2 separate regions of the Homo sapiens genome follow, and region 1 is linked to region 2. Evidence: promoter capture Hi-C in human tissues and cell types (Jung and others, 2019). All regions are on one chromosome and are shown on one strand. Each heading gives the region's core, a stretch centred on a gene start or on the middle of the fragment in contact. The rest is flanking DNA. Distances are from core to core; before and after follow the strand shown.

Region 1 (2,700 bases), core at 107-2,606, 680 kb before region 2:
TGGACCTAGACTTCCACCTTCCCCCTTGCTTTTCCATAATATCTCTTAAGATAAATTAGGACTATTGTGCTCCTTCATGCAAGCGTCTGAGATCTGTCCGCATTTCTGCCAAACTCTTCTTTGGTATACTGTTTTGTCTCACTGTGCCCCAATTTCCCATTTTGGATAACGTAGCACTATAGTCATATTGTTAAGAAACCTATTCAGTCATAGAGATTCCCTCATGGAGAATGCTGGTTCAATCAATCCATCATGGCCACAGACTCCCAGAATGCACTGGGAGGGAGTTCTGGAAGCTTCCTGCATGTCTGGTCTTTCACTTTAACGCAGGAGTAAAAGCATCCTATTTTCAGGGGACAAAGGCAATAAAAACTGTCCCAATCCTACAGAGCTCAATATATTTGGTGTAGCTTTTTTAAACATTGGATCTTTCTCTTCAACAGCTTTAAAAACCTAACTTGAATTAAGTCAGTATTCAATTGCTAAAAGAGAAGTAAAACAGTGAAGACAGGAAACCTGATAGATAAAACTTTTACAGTACTTTTGTGGTTAAAAGAACAAATAAGCTCAATATGGAACCAACTCCGAGATCTCTTAAGTAAAAAAAAGTTGGGGGGGGTGCAGAATTATACATAAAATATATTGCCATTTGTGTTAAATAATAATAATAACACCTGTGTGGGCATTGAAAGAATATACAATACATTAATGTATCTGAAAGAATACACAAGACACTAGTTGCAAATGTTGTCCCTGGAGAAAAAAATTGGAAGCCTGAGGTCAGGAGTAGGATTGACCTCTACTTTTCATGGTCTAATTTTTTAAAAAGTTTTGTGCCATTTGTTTGTCTTATCTACTAAAAAAGAAAGTAGAAAAAAATGTCTGCTGGGCACGGTGGCTCATGCCTGTAATCCCAGCACTTTGGGAGGCTGAGGCAGGCAGATCAGCTGAGGTCAGGAGTTCGAGATCAGCCTGGCCAACATGGTGAAACCCCATCTCTGCTTAAAAAAAAAAAAAAAAAATTATCCAGGCATGGTGGCACATGCCTGTAATCCCAGCTTCTTGGGAGGTTGAGGCAGGAGAATCACTGAAACCTGGGAGGGGGCCAAGATCGCCCCACTACGCTCCATCCTGAGGGACATAGGGAGACTCCATCTCAAAAAAATAAAAGCCTATTATGCCTGCCAAGAACAACGGCTCTTCCCACAAGCTTATTTTGGCATGACGTCCTAATCAAAAATGTGAAGACGGATTTGTTTTTATGCCCTGGGTAGGGGAATTCCTGTTTCCCACTCTCCTGGCACACTGGTAGCTTCAGTCAAGCATATTCCATTGGCACCTGCCCACACAGACGAGGAATTCCCTACTTCTATTACAAGTATAATCACAAGCCTTACCAGCTAAAACCAACAGGCAGCATAGGAAGAATGGAGAGTCATTCTGAGCCCTGCCAGGGACTGGGCTGCAGGAACAATATGAGTTCAATGTGCTGAGCACATGGAGAGAGGCACTGACTTGGGTAGAAGCAGGAGTCTTTAGCTCTCCCCCTTCTCTGTACTCTTCGTGGTGTGATAGCTAATTAGTGCCCTTCGTGCTTAAGGGCAATGCTCTGGAAGAAAACCTGTCAGAAGGCAAATGACCCAATGACCATAGTTTCCTGGGTAAATAAATGTTTCCACTGCTCTCTGGGCTAAGTGCCAGCATGAATTGCCACGTGCTAAAGTTAGAAAGAAGCCCTCTGTGGAGTAGCACAAACAGCACAGGCCTCAGCGTGCAGTGACAGAGTGCTAATGCCAGGCAGGCAGGCACTGTGCCAACTTAAGCAAGTTTCATAATCTCCTTAGATGGCAGTTTCTCATCTTTAAAAGTCACTAGAAGATCAGGGGCATTCCTTTCAGCACTAGCTTTCCATGATTTAGATTTTAGAAGTTGTGACTTTAAGTTTAATTTAATAAAAGAGAAAAAAACATAAAGCTTCCTCATTCCCAAATTTACTTTCACTCCCTGATCTAAAAGCCCTTGTGATTTGATTATTTTGACTGACTTTGCAAAGATCTCCAAAAATATCCTGCAACTTAAGGAATGTTCCAACTTTTTGAGGTGCCCTGATGAAGTAAGGGTGGCAGTGACCAAACAGACATTCTCTGGGACGATGATGCTGACAGGCAGTGAGTGAGTAAAGCACATGTGACTTCCTCCGTGTTGGAGTCTAGACTTCCAGTAGATCAACCTGGAGGAAGCTGACCTACTGGAACTCCAGACTCAGGTATCCTGTTCCTTCTCCTGAAGGTCACATAGGGGTAGAAGTTTGCATATCCTCAGAAGTCTCTTACTAACATCAAGTTTAGGCAATGTTGTGAAGTAGAAAAAGATGGTCCTTCTTCTTATTTGTTGGCCTTCCAACCATCTTCCCCCTCATCCTCCATACCTGATGACCTCATGCTGACTACCCCAGTGCCCAGAGACACCCCCACAGTGCCCAAGTCAAAGCTCTGAAGAGCCTGGCTCCAACCTCATTGTCAAGCTTTATTGCCACATATATCCTTTCTGTGTCTAATGATCCAGCCAACTATTTGTTCTGATCTCCTTGCACTTGGGTAGGCAGCCTGGTAGGATGGCACAAAGAGCATAGACTTTGGAGTCAGATTTAGTTCAAACTGTGACTTCTCTGGTTCTTTGAATTTGGAAAAGTTATAGCAT
Region 2 (2,700 bases), core at 151-2,650:
CCAATTCTTACCTGTCCATAAGGTGCTATCCAGAGCCACACTGCATCTGCACCCAGCACCATACCTAAAGAGATCAGGTACAGATTTTAATTCATTGTTCCACGGTTCTTTTTTTTAAAGAGTGTTCTTTAAAAAAACGGTTCGTCTTTTTAAACCAATGATGCAGGTAACATACCATTCATTATCTAGCGACAGGTAAAGGATACACTTAATGTTACAAAGAAGCACTGCACCCGCAGTTAAGAACCACCGATGGCGGCCGGGCGCGGTGGCTCACGGCTTGTAATCCCAGTATGTTGGGGGACCACGGCTGGTGGATCACCTGAGGTCAGGAGTTCAAGACCAGTCTCGCCAACATGGTGAAACCCCGTCTCTACTAAAAATATAAAAGCCTAGCATGGTGGCGCGCGCCTGTAGTCCCAGTTACTTGGGAGGCTGAGGCAGAACTGCTTAACTCGGGACGCGGAGGTTGCCATTAACCGATGTCGAGCCACTGCATTCCAGCCTGGGTGACAGAACGAGGCTCGGTCTCAAAAAAGAAAAAAGAAACACTAATGGAAATATTGGTGACACTGCGGAATGCAGGCACTTAAGCACGTGGACTACCACCGACAGCCTTTCATGAGAGCGGACGGCTGATGGAGGCTCGGGTCACGGCCCTTAACAATAGCTTACTCGGGTGACTCGGCATGTGCCACCATCAGAGCGGTTGGCATTCATCATTACTCTCAGATGTCCCTACCAACACAGGCTTCATCAGAGGCAGGGCACGAGAGCCGAGGCTTCTCCGCAGTTCTACTCTAACATAGTCGCAGCTTAGGTCACGCATGCACCATATGTGCAATCCCCCACCATCCTCAACTTGTAGGCCCTGCAAAGGCGCGCGACTGGCTTAGAAGTCCCAGTCAATTCAGGGTGACCTTAGCAGACAAAGGCTGGAGCGCCCCAAAACCCGCAACATTCGCAAAGATAAAACATACCTCACAGGAGTCGACTCCTACCTCGAAAAGACAGTATGGTGCCTGGGCTCCTGTATATAAGAGTTCTTTTGATGACGTCACGACGCACGCTCCCGGCAGCGTCCGCTTCGGCTCCTCCCCCTAACCTCCCTCAATCTTCCTCTCATCCAGTATCACCTTCTTCCCACCCCTTAAGTCCGCCCCTTTTCCCCGCCCTTCCTCGCCATTGTGGGCAGAGACATGACCGTCCACGTGATGCCGTGCTCCCGCCCTCCTCCCGACTGAGGAGGAAGAGCAGAGAGGGGAGGGGGCGCGAGGCAAGGAAAGCTCTGGGGATGGGGGAAGGGGGGGCGGTGTAAGGCTGAGTGATTTCCTTCCGGCACGTCGCCCGCTCCGTGGGAGGGGGTGGGGGATTTCACTTCCGGGACGGTGTTCCGGCCCATTCCGGCCCATTTCCACCCCCGGAGGTAGGTGCTGCTCCTTGACTGGACTCGGGCCCCACACCCCAGTGCCACTTCCCTGCACCGGGGTCACCTCGCCCGCCCTCCGCCGCAGCGCGCTCCTGGGGCGCTCAGCTACTTTCCTTCACCCCGCCTCCAGGCACCGGGCGACCTTCCACCCCCTTGGCCCCCGGCCGGGCTGATCTGCCGGACCCGCCCCCTCGCGGGGCCCCTCCCTCAGGACCCCGGGAAGGGCGGCCCCCTCCCCCACCGCAGCCGGGACACACCCAGATACGCACACCCACCTCCTGGCAGCTCCCCGCCCGCCGCCGCCTGGAGCCGGTCCCTGGGCGCCGCCCCCTTCCTAGTTCTCACCTGAGCGCTGGCTCCCCCGCCCGACGCCTTGTCCCCATCTTCTCCGAAGTTCCTCAGTGACATTTTGCCCTTTAGCCAGTTCCCCTCTCCCCAGGCTTCCTAACGCAGAAGAAAGCTGCTCAAGTGCTGGAGTGGCCAACCCCATGCCGTTCCCAATTCTCCCTTTTACAGCTCTCACCCCTCCAGTGCCGACGGTAGCGAAAGACTTTCCTCCAGGGGCTTCCTCACTGGGGAATTGCCGGAAAGAGCAAACAAAAAAGGCGCTGGTGTAGGCTCCAAAATAAACACATCTGAATTCATGATGGCATCGACAGAGGCTCTTATTGGATTAAAAGTTTCAAAACAAACAATAACGCTTTGGAAAAAGGTCAGATTGGCTAAAGTTGATTGTTGAAAACAGTGTATACACTTCCCTATTTAATAAGTGTGTTGTTAATGCGGGGCAGTACTGTGAGCTTGGCAGAGTAAGTTCCTGAAGTTTCAGGTGTGGTGTAACTATGTAATATATAGATAAGTGAACGCACATTGGGCTTAAGTAAATGTCTTCCTGTTCGGATTTATACAAACTATTTTCAGTAGTTGAAACTGTACTTTCAACTATCTTGTATACAGCTTCAGGTTTAGTGTTTCAGCCATTTTTTAAAAATATTTTAATGGAAAAATGTTGGCATACTTGGTAAATGCTGTATTTTTTCATCGGATCTGGAGAACTAAGTTTCAGGATGGAAGTATTCATCACCACCTCGGAATTGCCAACTTCGAATTTGGCAGATTTACCCAGCTTTCCTAATTTTGACAACTGAACTTCACATTCTCTGCATCTTGGTTGAATCCTGGCACAGCTGTGGGATTTTTCCTAGAGTTTGCTTCACAGCCCTATAACCAAAGTCTTTTTGTGGGGGGGGCTCTGATTCTTAAGCTTAGAA

What was found. The method cuts DNA at HindIII sites, captures the fragments that hold promoters and counts their contacts. A contact is called where the count stands out against the background at its distance.
Region 1: a fragment that was not itself captured here is called in contact with the fragment with the promoter of ZBTB37 in region 2 in 1 of the 25 tissues and cell types used here (bladder).

The regions. Positions count from the first base shown.
Region 1 is chr1:173,189,045-173,191,744 of GRCh38, forward strand. The region is part of intron 1 of TNFSF4 (TNF superfamily member 4); the gene reads right to left. Among named protein-coding and RNA genes, the nearest start is that of TNFSF4, 17 kb to the right of the region's middle. The HindIII fragment of the contact is 4,071 bases long and covers 1-2,700 here.
Region 2 is chr1:173,866,980-173,869,679 of GRCh38, forward strand. It overlaps ZBTB37 (zinc finger and BTB domain containing 37), which reads left to right and starts at 1,401. Exons shown (of 5, transcript NM_001122770.3): 1 at 1,401-1,426; 2 at 1,946-2,141. GAS5 (growth arrest specific 5) reads right to left here and starts at 1,010. Exons shown (of 12, transcript NR_002578.4): 1 at 981-1,010; 2 at 12-64. It overlaps SNORD74 (small nucleolar RNA, C/D box 74), which reads right to left and starts at 766; the gene lies at 695-766. RefSeq lists a silencer at 1,436-1,845 and an enhancer at 1,480-2,679. The HindIII fragment of the contact is 7,781 bases long and covers 1-2,700 here.